2 separate regions of the Homo sapiens genome follow, and region 2 is linked to region 1. Evidence: promoter capture Hi-C in human tissues and cell types (Jung and others, 2019). All regions are on one chromosome and are shown on one strand. The core of a region is centred on a gene start or on the middle of the fragment in contact, and the rest is flanking DNA. Distances in the headings are between cores, read along the strand shown. Region 1 holds the start of APLNR (apelin receptor). Region 2 overlaps LOC105369309 (a long non-coding RNA gene).

The links. Contacts are between HindIII fragments. The study calls those that stand out against the background at their distance.
Region 2: a contact is called between a fragment that was not itself captured here and the fragment with the promoter of APLNR in region 1, in 2 of the 25 tissues and cell types used here (H1 embryonic stem cells and hippocampus).

The regions. Positions count from the first base shown.
Region 1 is chr11:57,236,000-57,242,751 of GRCh38, reverse strand. APLNR (apelin receptor) reads left to right here and starts at 5,502. Exons shown (of 1, transcript NM_005161.6): 1 at 5,502-6,752. The coding sequence starts at 5,748. RefSeq lists enhancers at 103-397, 1,420-2,186, 5,228-5,860. The HindIII fragment of the contact is 13,017 bases long and covers 1-6,752 here.
Region 2 is chr11:57,199,744-57,206,495 of GRCh38, reverse strand. The region is part of intron 2 of LOC105369309 (a long non-coding RNA gene); the gene reads left to right. Among named protein-coding and RNA genes, the nearest start is that of LRRC55, 21 kb to the right of the region's middle. RefSeq lists a silencer at 1,087-1,381. The HindIII fragment of the contact is 3,449 bases long and covers 2,035-5,483 here.

The DNA.
Region 1 (6,752 bases), core at 4,253-6,752:
GGAGAGAGTTGCTGAGGGGGTTTCTGTTTTAATTATCAGAAAGCGGCTGACCATTTGTTTTTGGTCAGATAAGCTGCTAAAGTCGGGCGTGTGTGTGTGTGTGTGTGTGTGTGTGTGTGTGTGCGCGTGCGCGCGCGCACGCGCGCGTGCCTAGGGTGGGGGTTGGGGGTGTTGTGTGCTAGAGAAAGGAGAGGTGAAATTCCTCAGTGTGGGCTGGGCAGTCAAGTTATATCCCTCCTGTGTCCCTGCCCTCCCTTCCCCTTTCCCTCAGATAACACCACCAGCTGTTAGGGACACAGCTGTGGCTGCCTCTCGGGAAGGAGAGAAAAAGGCCCTGTTGCCCTGGGTGAGTTCCCAAGCTGTGGAGTTCAAAGCAGACCTGTGAAGTGAGGGGGCTGGAGCAGAGAGCTAGGAGGGAGGAGGTGAGAAGTCAGGAAGAGCACAGAAAGGCAGTACTTCCACTTTGATGTCCCCAGCCCACAGCTTTGGGTAGGGTCTGGGTGAGGTCCCAGCAGAGGGGTTCAGCTTTCCCCCTTCATCCCAAACTCTTAGAGAGATCCAATTAAGCACCCGTCCCTGTACTGCAAGCAGTGTGTTTATTCAGATCTCTGATCCCACTACACACAAGCAAGCACACTCTTCTACGCACCTGATGTACATTCCTTGGGTGAATGTGTGCATTCAGTGCACGCTCATGCCTACAACACACAAACATGCATACTCTTCTATACACGTTAATGCATGAACCCAATGCACATCATAGCCCACTATGCACAAGCAAGCACACTGTTCTACATGCATGAATGCATGCACCCAATGCACATCCTACCTCACTATGCACAAGCAAGCACACTATTCTACATCCATGAATGCATGCACCCAGTGCACACTCATATCCCCCTGCACACACAAGTTCAGCCTGCTCACAAGCACCTACAGACTTCACATCCAAGTGACCTCGTGGCACACAGAAAACTTGCATTCACAAAGCACACATAGTCAGCATGTCCATGGGCACAGGCCAAGTCAGGCTCTGCTTTTTAGGCCAGGCACAAACCTGGTGGTGGGGTGGGTGAGGAATATTGAACCACTGACTCCAGAGGTCTCCCAGAAGTCTGGGCTCTCCTCAAAGGGCACTAGCAGGTCTGGAGTGCTTTTCTGCCAGGTGTCATTCATCTCGGTCTCATCACAATGCCCTGAAGAAATCACCCAGGAGAGAGAGGGAAGTTCCCCAGGAAACCTGTGCAGGCCTCTCCAGGGCAGGCCAGCTCTGGGCACCCTGGCCAACAGGCTTGCCTTAGCTATTGGTTTGCCAGATAGCTCAGAGTAGAATTTCCTGGATCACTTTAGCAAAAGTTGCCTTGTTAATGCAGTAGAGCAGCTCTGGGGTGAAGATCCAAGTCTTACACCCTTCTCCTGAGTGTGTTTCTATTGCTTTAATTCAACAGACTTTTACCAGGTGCCAAGTAGGGTGGGGGGCAGAAATGAAAAGAAGATATCTGTCCCAGGCCTTGTATATGTCTAGTCTGTGAGGCCCAGGACCCATATACTTCTGAGCCCCGGGACACACAAGTTTCATCTTCAGCTACTGGTCCTATTTTCCAGTCTTTCTTCTGTGTGGAATGGTGCAATGCGGAACAGGGACAGATCAGATCAGGCAGGATAAGGAGTGAGCTGGCTAATTCTGCTCACTTCAGGCTGTCATTGCAGGGGGCACTCAGGCCATCTGGCTACAGCTGGCTCCTGGTTGGAGGCCGGATCTTATCAGCACTCTACCCTCTCTGGTCCCAAACGGTGGCCTCTTCCCAGCCCTGGCCCCCAATTCCCTCCCCTCTCAATGAGTCTGGTAACTCTAGTGAGATTAACTGCTCTTTACTCCCTCTAGGGCAGACATCCTGGAGGTCGGCAGATGAAAGCGATGGATCCATATCCTTTCCCACAGGGGTCTCCAGGCTCCTGTCTGGCTCAGCATTCCAGTGGGAACAGCTGAGGGGAGGGAGACAGGGACCTGATTTCAGGGACGCTTCAAGCTTGCTAGCTCCCTTCTCTCTGTATTTCTAGCTGCAAAGGGCACAGACATCTGCATCTTTCTGGGAGAATCATGGGAGAACTGGGATCACTAGGCGTCTCAAACTTGGTCTTTATCCTGGAATGTCCCAAGCAGTAATGTTTACTCGTAAAAGGGCCATCTATTATGACCTGACCTGAGCCAAGCTGGTCCCTGCACAACTCCAAGGTCCCCTTTGATAGGTAAAGATAGCTTACCACTGAAGAAGTCTGAGGTAGCCAAAGGTTAGCTATTTCCACCCAGGATATAATGTCAGGATATAATGAAACTATTATATCAGGATATGATGAATGAATCATGATATGATGAATGAATGTCAGGATATAATGAAAACCATTCTGCCATCTGCGCAGAACTTCTATTAGCCAAAAATGCAGGAGCAAGAGGCCCCAAGCAATTCCTACCCTGTGTACTGTGAGATGGATGGAGCCCCAGCTCTGGATCCTATTGGGTGTCCCAGCCCCCACTGTACAGAATGCCAAGATTCCAGGGGCAGAGTCCTGTTAGCTTTCTAGCTGGCACCAGGCAACCAGGAATTCTCTTTGGCAATGGCTAGAGCGAGGGTGGTTTCTGGATCAAGTCTATGGTGCTAACCCTAAGTGTACAGATTATTGCCTGGCAGGATTCTTATACCCTGTCTAATCAATGTGAGGTGTGTCTCTAAATAGTCAATCTATTTAAAATCTCACCCGGTAGAGCTTATTTTAAGGTAAATTACAGGTATCCTGGCATCGCCCTACATTTCTCTAATGCTTAACAGATGACACACCCCTCAGTTTAAAAAGGATTGGGCGTTTTTCTTTGGGAGCATAGTGGTTTAGTCCATGGGCTCGAGACAGCTTTGGTTCAAATTCTGGCTCTGACAATTACTGCTGGGTGATCTTGGCTAAACTGCTTCACCTCTGTGTGCCTCAGTTTCCTCATCTGTAAATTGAGGCTAATGAGAGCACCTGCCTCCTAATGTCATTTTGATGATTAAAAGAGATACTAATAAATATATGTAGAATGTATAAAATGTTTAGAAGACTGCCTGGCACACAATAAGTGGGCAACATGTAGTCCTCATGAGAAACACCAACATATTCATTACTCCACATTGCATTTAGGTGAAGGTCACAGGATCTTTCTAATCTCTCTCTGCAGCCTTCTCTCCTGTATCTCCCCACTGCACTCTAAGGCTTTTTCTATCTTTGCATTTTTTGTTTCCTCCTCCTGCCCCATCCTCTTGGTTCTTCTCCTGCCTTCTATTCTTGGCAAGCTCCTGTTTAAAGAACACAAACTCGGGGGCCAAAGACATGTTTTACTTATCATGGTCTGTGCTTTTTTTTGAAATGAAAATTGATTTCCAAAATTTACAAATATGAAAATTTCTTACAAAAATCCATAATTTGAAATTATCTTGGAAAAATCCTAAGACACAGTCATGCTGGGGTCCAGCTTTCTGCGTGGCAACCAGAGACTAGAGCTGAAGAGGCCTCCCTATGATGGAATGGGCACCCTCCAGTTTGCCACAGTCTTTACCATTCTCTGTTGTCTCAAACTACACTCTTGGCCTGTTTTTTTTTTTTTTTTTTGCAGGTATTTGAGTTTGAGTTCCTTGATCTCTGCATATGATTTTCTGATCCACTCTCCCTCCAGAAAATGGATTCCAGCTTTTGTAGTAACTTAAGACAAATATATATCGTGAGACAGGGTCTTGGCTGTGTTATTCAGGCTAGTCTTGAACTCCTGGGCTCAAGCAGTCTTCCTGCCTTGGCCTCCCAAAGTGCTGGGATTATAGGCATGAGCCACCTTGCCTGGCCAATTCCAGCTTTTGTAAGTCTTTTGCCTTGGAAGTGGCTAAGGCTCAGCTCCTGCTTTTGTTCCATCTCACTATTACCCAACGTCAGGTGGCTTCCCCAACTCTTCAAGGTTGTGGAAAGGGTGCGTATTTTTTAAAAAAAATCTTACGTCGTGCATCTTCCTTCCTTCCTAGAGGTCCTGGAGAGGTGATGAGCTGGGGCAAAGTGAGCGTCTACGGAACTTTCCCCACAGTATCCTCCAGTGACTGAGTCTTTCTCTAGAGACCCCCCTCCTCTAGCTCAACTTCCTGACCCCCTGTGGTCTTACAGAAACCTCTTGGTCCATGGAGGATAGTAAAAACCTGAGAACTGAAATGTATCCATGTTCTCACCACGTAGTAATTCTTACACTTGTTCTTCCATCTATGGATTCCCCTTTTCACTCACCTCCTACATCATCCATCCACTTACTCACTCAACAGCCATTCACCTGGCTGGGCGTGGTGGCTCATGCCTGTAATTTCAGCACTTTGGGAGGCCGAGGTGGGTGGATCATCTGAGGTCAGGAGTTTGAGACTAGCCTGGTCAATCCCCATCTCTACTAAAAATACAAAAAAATTAGCCTGCAATCCCAGCTACTAGGGAGGCTGAGGCGGGAGAATCGCTTGAACCCAGGAGGCAGAAGTTGCAGTGAGCCTAGACCAGCCTGGGCAACAAGAGTGAAACTCTGTCTCAACAAACAAACAAACAAACAAAACAGCCATTCACCTACGACATGCCAGGTACTGTATTATGTTCGTGTTTGGAGAAGAAGAAAAGCAAACAATCAACTGTAGCATAATTCACTTTATTACCTTGGGCAAAACATTGACCTTGTTGGGCCTTTGTTTCCTACAGATTTAATGACTTGTTTAGAGATAATTTTGTCCTGGGTTTCTTCCATCCTGTGACTGCCCTCAACCTTCTAAAGCATCCTGTGCCTTCCGCAAACTGCAAACTGCAGTCTACACTAGTGTAGGGGTATTTCTCTAGAAACCACAAAAGTTCTCAGAGGGAGGGTCAAAGCCAAGGGGTAGAGAAAGATGAAGCGAGAGGCAAAGTGGGAGAAGACCCTCCTGTGACACCTGGTCTGGGTGGGGGCTGGGGGTGCAGGAAGGGAGCCGAGGGGGCCAGACCTGCCTGCCAGGAGGACCTGCCAGATGCCCTGCCCATCCTGCGAAATCTTACACCCTCCTTGCTCCCTACCAGCCCTGGCTCCAGCTCAAGCTGGATTGCAATCTGCATAATGTGTCCCATTTAGATTGGATGGAAGGGGGTGAGAACAGGAGGGCGGAGAGCACTGAGGAGGGAGTGCCCTAAAGGGCAGGCAGGAAGTGGTGGCCAGAGGAAAGTGGAGGGATAGGGGCTGGGGTGAAGGTGGGTGGCAGCCAGAAAGGAGAGGCGGGGCCAGGAAAGCCGACTTGCAAAACCACAGATAATGTTCAGCCCAGCACAGTAGGGGTCAATTTGGTCCACTTGCTCAGTGACAAAAAGAAAAAAAAAGTGGGCTGTCACTAAAGATTTTGACTCACAAGAGAGGGGCTGGTCTGGAGGTGGGAGGAGGGAGTGACGAGTCAAGGAGGAGACAGGGACGCAGGAGGGTGCAAGGAAGTGTCTTAACTGAGACGGGGGTAAGGCAAGAGAGGGTGGAGGAAATTCTGCAGGAGACAGGCTTCCTCCAGGGTCTGGAGAACCCAGAGGCAGCTCCTCCTGAGTGCTGGGAAGGACTCTGGGCATCTTCAGCCCTTCTTACTCTCTGAGGCTCAAGCCAGAAATTCAGGCTGCTTGCAGAGTGGGTGACAGAGCCACGGAGCTGGTGTCCCTGGGACCCTCTGCCCGTCTTCTCTCCACTCCCCAGCATGGAGGAAGGTGGTGATTTTGACAACTACTATGGGGCAGACAACCAGTCTGAGTGTGAGTACACAGACTGGAAATCCTCGGGGGCCCTCATCCCTGCCATCTACATGTTGGTCTTCCTCCTGGGCACCACGGGCAACGGTCTGGTGCTCTGGACCGTGTTTCGGAGCAGCCGGGAGAAGAGGCGCTCAGCTGATATCTTCATTGCTAGCCTGGCGGTGGCTGACCTGACCTTCGTGGTGACGCTGCCCCTGTGGGCTACCTACACGTACCGGGACTATGACTGGCCCTTTGGGACCTTCTTCTGCAAGCTCAGCAGCTACCTCATCTTCGTCAACATGTACGCCAGCGTCTTCTGCCTCACCGGCCTCAGCTTCGACCGCTACCTGGCCATCGTGAGGCCAGTGGCCAATGCTCGGCTGAGGCTGCGGGTCAGCGGGGCCGTGGCCACGGCAGTTCTTTGGGTGCTGGCCGCCCTCCTGGCCATGCCTGTCATGGTGTTACGCACCACCGGGGACTTGGAGAACACCACTAAGGTGCAGTGCTACATGGACTACTCCATGGTGGCCACTGTGAGCTCAGAGTGGGCCTGGGAGGTGGGCCTTGGGGTCTCGTCCACCACCGTGGGCTTTGTGGTGCCCTTCACCATCATGCTGACCTGTTACTTCTTCATCGCCCAAACCATCGCTGGCCACTTCCGCAAGGAACGCATCGAGGGCCTGCGGAAGCGGCGCCGGCTGCTCAGCATCATCGTGGTGCTGGTGGTGACCTTTGCCCTGTGCTGGATGCCCTACCACCTGGTGAAGACGCTGTACATGCTGGGCAGCCTGCTGCACTGGCCCTGTGACTTTGACCTCTTCCTCATGAACATCTTCCCCTACTGCACCTGCATCAGCTACGTCAACAGCTGCCTCAACCCCTTCCTCTATGCCTTTTTCGACCCCCGCTTCCGCCAGGCCTGCACCTCCATGCTCTGCTGTGGCCAGAGCAGGTGCGCAGGCACCTCC
Region 2 (6,752 bases), core at 2,510-5,009, 35 kb after region 1:
CAGGCCTGGAAGGATCCAAGGAGGCTTCTTGTCAGGGCCAGAGTCCAGAGACATGGAGCAGAGAGATCAGTGTGGGACACCAGGGAGCAGGACCCAGACCTTGGCTCTGCAGTCATTCACATGGCAAGTCTCTTTCACCCTCTGGACCCCATTTCCTAGGTGTAAACAGAGAAGCTGGAACCTGGTGAATCCTAAAGGCCCTTTAGAACAATATATTCTGTGATCCAAACTTAAGATACTTTCCTGACTTCAAGAAACTTATGGTCTGGGGTTGAATGACCGAATGAGACGGCACATTTAATAAATGCTGGTTGACTCTCAGAAAGCATCAACTGGGGGTAGGGGGTGGGAAGGAACCATAACTCTCCATTTCCTGGAAGATGAACTTTCTGCGTGCAGAGAAGGGAGGGATTGCCATCGTGTGCTCACCTCCTGCTGGAACTGAGGTTGGATTCTTCATTAATCTCAGTACTGAGTAGGGTCAGCCTCTCCAGCTGGTGGGCAGGCAACACAACAGGCTACAGGTGCTCTCCCCATGGGAGAGTCCGGCATCTTGCTCTTGGAGCCTTTCTTATAAAGGGGTGATTAGGCATCCCCGGAGAGTCATTGGAGGCTCTTGTCCACAGGATCATAAATGAATCCTATCGCAAATTCATTCCCATCCCTTCCTGAAGGCAGGGATGCAACAGGGAAAGGTGTCAGCTTGAAGTGGTAGACGTGGGTTAGATTCCTGGCCCTGCCAGTGAGTGACTTGTGTGACCCTGGGGGACAAATCATTCTTTCTCCTGGATCTTGGTTTCCTCATCTATAAAATGATAGAGTCTTCCCAAGTGATAGTTGTGTTCTAGGCACTGGATGCTGGTGATAGGAGATGAAGAAGGCTATTCTGGCTGAGGAGACAGGTGTGGAAACACATTCTCTCAGTGTAGTAGTATACAATGCTAGTGGGATGCCCAGGAGGCATAGAAATGCAGATTTAGGAACCTTAGTCCAGCAGGGGTGATACAGGAAGGCTTCCTGAAGGAGGAGGCCCATTTACACTTGAATGATCTGTGCAAGTCAGTGGGTGGAGAAGGTGGGGGAAAAGGCACTTTAAGACATTTCCAAAGAAGAATCTATCTAGTCATCTTGTCTTTCCACAGTACAGACTTCAGCTCTCCTCCTAATCTGATGCTCTGGAGCCATTGCCCCGGGCTGCCTGCTGGCTGGGAGGGCAGCCAGCTCAGAGCGCTCTAGGGTGGACTTCTGAGCACCCTCTGCTGGAATGAACTCTGAGCATAGCCATAGCAATTGGCTAAGTCTCAAGCTTGCCTTGGGCAGAGCTTTCCAGCAGTCAGCAGGATGTCTCCTCGGGAGCCTGACAGTCTTAGATCAGATCTGTTTTAGTCTTGGTCTCTGCCAGGGCTTTTGGAAAAGGTGCCATCCTCTTCTTAGGAGCTTCCTAAGGGCAGAACATCCAGTCCCTCATCTTGAAAAGGTTTATTGAGTGTAGACTATGGGATGAGTAGGAATGAGAGAAAGCAATGTCATCCCTGAACGCACTCAGAAATGGACAGGAATGCTCTGTAGGGAAGGCAATGGTCTTATGGGAAAGTCTACCCAGGGAATCTGAGCTAGCCTGGTGAGTTCCCAGGAGGATTTCTAAGCAGAGATGCCTGAGGTGAAATCTAAAGGAAGGGAAGAAATGGACAAGTTGAAGAAGGGAGTGGGATAGAGAGGAAGCAGATCAGCATTCTAGGCAAAGAAATTGCATGAACAAAGATTGAGGCTTGGGAGGCTTGTCTATTAAGGAAGCGAAAGGCCAAGGGACTTGTGTACATTGAGGAAGGGAGGGTGGTGAGACATGGTGCTGAGGGGTGGGCTGGGTTAGCCGTGAGGGTCTCACAAGCTGCACTATTGTTTACCCTAATTGCAATGGAACTCCATACAAGCAGCAGGCTAACATGATCTTATATATATATATATATATATTTTTTTTTTTTTTTTGAGACAGGGTCTCACTCTGTTGCTCAGGCTGGAGTGCAGTGGCATGAGCATGGCTCACTGCAGCCCTGACCTCCTGGGCTCAAGTCATCTTCCTGCCTCAGCCTCTTGAGTAGCTGGGACTACACACAAACGCCCCCATGCCTGGATAATTTAAATTTTTTTTTTTTGGTAGAGCTGGGATCTTGCTATGTTGTCCCGGGTGGTCTCAAACTCCTACGCTCAAGTAATCCTCCTGCTTCAGCCTCTCAAAGTTCTGGGATTGATTACAGGCGTGAGCCATTGTGCCTAGCTGATTTGTGTTTTGAAAAGAAACTTCACACTGGTAGTCTCCAGCATAGAGATGAGGGAGGGGCGGCAGATGTTGCTTGACCAGTTAGGAGGCTATTGCAGTGGTCCAGGTGAGAGCAGGCAGCCTGATTGAGTAGGTGGCAATGGAGCTGTCGAGATGGGGTCTGCTGGGTTACAGTGCATGCAGGTGATCAGGGAGAGGGCATGTCAAGATGTGTTCCAGTTTCTGAGATAACAGAGCTCTGGACTGAGAGATCATCTAGTCCGCCCCTCATTTAACTCCCCAAGGAAACTGAGGCTTAGAAATGGGAAGGGACTTTCCCATGCTGGCAGAGCAGGGACAGTATTAGAGCCAAATCCTGTCCATGCTCATCCTGTTCTTTTATGGTAGAAAGCTGAAATCGTAGGGCAGGAAGTAACCTTAGACATCAACTTGCCTAATTCTAACATTTTATAGATAAGAAAACTGAGGCCTCAAGGGATGAAGCTTTAGTGGCCAAAGGCCACCCAGGGAGCTAATTAATTAATCAGTTGAATGGCCTAAGCACATATAAACATGGCTCTGCTGACCCCTAGATAGTGGGACATGTGTTTGTTCAGGAGGGAGATGACTTGGCAGACGTCCCTCCGAAGGCTTTCCCAAGCATCCTTGTGTTGCTGCCTCCTCACTCAGCTGGCTGCCTGGGGTTAGGGAATCCAGATGTCTGGGGCTACAGAAGCCAGCTGGATTTTCCCATGTCATGGGTTCCCAGAGTTTGGGCTCAATAGTTCAGTAGCCATGGGAAGGGGGGTGAAAGGCAGGGAAGGAATGCCAAGCTGTTCTTTCGGCAAATTCCCCAGCTGCTGAGGTTAGAAAAAGGGTTGATGTCCTCTGGTTTCTGGATATCCTCCTTCTGGCAGGTCAGAGCCCTAAATCTAAGGCCAGAGCTTGCACATTGCTACCTTGCATCAAAATACAGGGACCGTGCTCTTTAGAACCAAATGTTGTGACGGGGTCTGACAGATGTTGTCAAATATTGTGCTGTTTCCAGATGAACAACAGCTCATTTGAGAGACGTATTAGTTTGGTGGCAGTATGTTGGAATTTTCATTCTTTAGAAAAACAAGCAGAATATTTGAAATTGGGATTACATTGGAAAATCCCAGAACATATTTTTGGCAGCTGTCTGAGTAGCCCATCATCTGGGTGACCTGGCCTTGTCTCTGAGGAATCACTCAGAGACCTAGCTCTCTGCACCTGTCCCCCTTGGCCCCTCAGGAACATTCAGGCAAGTGGGGAAAGTGGCATCAACTTTCCTGGAGGCTCAGGTGGCTCGGAAGACTGTGGTTTGTGGAAAAGCACAGGGTCTTTGGAATGATACATCCCTGGGGCTGGAGCTGGGGGGCACAGTTGTGTCCTGGCCTTACCACTTACTATGTGGGTGACATCGGTATTTTCTTCTCTGATCCCCAGTTTCTCATTCTGTTAAGTGGGAATGAGGATCCCTATTTCACGTTACCATTGTGAGTATGAAATGAGAGAATCGGAAAAACACACTTAATATGTTGTCTGGCATTGAAAAAAGCATTCAGTAGATTTAAATTGTTGTTTGTTCTCACTCCAGGATCCTGAAATCAACCAAGGCTGAGTCAGATGGATTTCGATCAATGGAACCCTTCCTCTCCAGCTCTGGCCACTCCTGGGTGCCCCTTGGGGTTCACTGTCATGGCAACGGGTCTGTGGAGTGGTGTGGAAGCCGATCGGGGAAGCTAGGCAGCCAGAACGCTGCCTGGCCTGCCGGCGCCACAGCCAAGGAGGGCGGCCACCTGATTAATGCCTGCCTGATCCATTGGCCTCATCTCAGGCCACCCTGGTAGAAGCTTCTTGCTCAGGGAGGGATGGAGCGTCACTCCTTGGGATGTGCCAGGACCCTGGTCAGTGGGCACAGTTACAGGTGCCGCAGAGTCTTAGAACTGCCCAAGCAAAATATCAGAGCTGAAAGGGACCCTGGAGATTTGGTATTCCAGGCGCCTCTCTTTATGGCTGAACAAAGAATACATGGGTAACGAATGCTTACAGTGTGCCCAACACAGTATGAAGCTCTTTCCCCACAGGTTAATTTCTACAATAACCCCGTGGAATAAGTATAATTATCCCCATCAGGGAGGTAGAAACCAGGGCTCAGAGATATGAAATATTTTGTTCATGACACACGACGTATATTTGCACCCAGGACTTTCCTGTTCCTATGTTCTTTCTACCGTCTCACTTTACTGATTGTTTGTCCAGTGCTCTGGAACTTACCTATCTCATCCCTGGCTGTATTTCCTATGCTTGCACAGTGCCTCACGTGTCTTAGGGTTTTGGTAAAAGATTGTGGAATAAATGAATTGCTGTGGTTAATCTTGAACTGTTTTTGCAAGTATGATCCTAAAGATGGGTCAGGGAAGCATATGCATGTTGAAGGGAGGGCCAATTATCAGACTCTAAAGATGAGAAAGGGAGGACTAAGACCCTAAAGATGAAAATCTCCCCTGCACCTCCCAGACCCTCCATTGCAGGCTATTCTTTCAAAATACCCTTTGTTCCAGTCACACTGGATTCTGTCGTGAGCATCCACTCTTCCTTCCCCTCTGTGCTGTCTCTCCTGCTTTCCCTCCACCTGGAATGGCTCATTTCCATCTTTACTGAAGAGCTTATACCCATCTTTAAATTTCAGATGTCCCCTTCTCTGTAAAGTTTGGTCTCTCACTTCTCTAAATTCATATTGTACTTGCAGATCTCTTTCTCGTGTCCTTGATTGCATTCTTCATTGTAACACGTCTTCTTGTGACTGTGGAACTCCTCCCCATTAGACCATGGGCAACTGGAGGGCCCTGGCAGTGTCACATCCTGGCATCATCCGGGGCATCTAGCATGCTGGCACACACATCAGTAGTAATGAATGTCTAATTGAATGGAATTGACTTGGGGCAGAGTACTGATACACTGGGATTGGGCTGGATTGGTCAAGGAGTAGCGCTAGAGTTAGGCAGAGATGAGGGTGGGCAGAAGGGGTGGGCCTCTATCTGCTCCATTTCCCTGAAAGCGGCCCTCTCCAGGGACCTCTCTGACCTCCGCTGACCTTCACTAGGGCTGTTTTCTCATTCTCTTGGATCAGGCTGAGAAAAACAGGAAGAATCATTAAGAGACAGAGCCTTCCGAGCCAGCGAAATTATTGCTGATTCTTTTTGCAGGCACCAAAAAGAATTTGTTTGTGCGTTGTGACGAAGAGTGGGCCTTTCCTGCTGGCCCCCAGGAGAAGCCTCTACCAACCTCCTGGATCCACCCCAGGCACCGTGCCCAGCCCCATTTACCTCTCTTTTTCTCCCTTCCATAGTTAGAGTATCTACTATTTTTTCATAATTAAAAAACAGAATCGGAGGATCCCTCATTGTATCCAAAATTTCTCCCTGAGAGATCATTTGCCCCATTGCTACTCAAAGTGTGGTCCATGGGCCAGTAATGCTGGAGGTTTGTTAGAAACGCAACTTCCAGGCCTTCCTTCCCAGCCTACTGGTTTGGAATATGTACCTTAACAGGATCCCCGGGAAATTGTTATGCACATTCAATTTTGAGAAGTGCTGCTATAACCCACTTACATTTTTTAAATTTTAAAATAGGAGGTGAAATACCAACCCCAGAGAGGGAAATTGATTTGCTAACTAGTGTCATTATTAATTTGGTTAAACAAACATTTACTGAAAACCTGCTACACATCCAGCCCTATGCTGGGCACGGTGGATAAAACATGAATCAATAATCTCTGATCTCTTTGGTTTTTAGTAATTCTTCATGTACCTAAACATTGCCTTGCCTCACGCCAGGGCCTCGGCAAGTGTTTGTTGAGGGACTATGTCTCTTGAATTAAAGCCTAGGGCTTCCTCTACATTACTACAGCTGCCTTCTATAATTATCAGCCTCCTGGAGTAAATCGTAGCACTTTTAGCCAGAAATAAATAAATTCTTCAAGGAGGAAATCAGAGTGGGCTGCATCGTTGGTTTTGCCAACTCTTGACAAATCCCAAGACTCTAATAATGAGATAGGGCTCATGCATCCAAAACTCCACATATCACAAATGGTAGAAGAGGAGGATCTTTATGGAAACAAGGAATGATTTTCAATGGACTAAACCAGCAGTCCCCAACCTTTTTGTCACCGTGGAATGGTTTCATGGAAGACAATTTTTCCACACGCCTGGGATGGGGAATGGTTTTGGGATGATTCAAGTGCATTACATTTATTTTGTACTTTGGTATTATTACATTGTTAACAATAATGAAATAATTATACAACTCACCAAATTGTAGGATCAGTGGGAGCCCTGAGCTTGTTTTCCTGCAACTAGAGGGTCCCACCTGGGGGTGATGGGAGACAGTGACAGATCATCAGGAGTTAGATTCTCTTAAGGAGCGTGCAACCTAGATCCCTCGCATGCGCAGTTCGCAATAGGGTTGG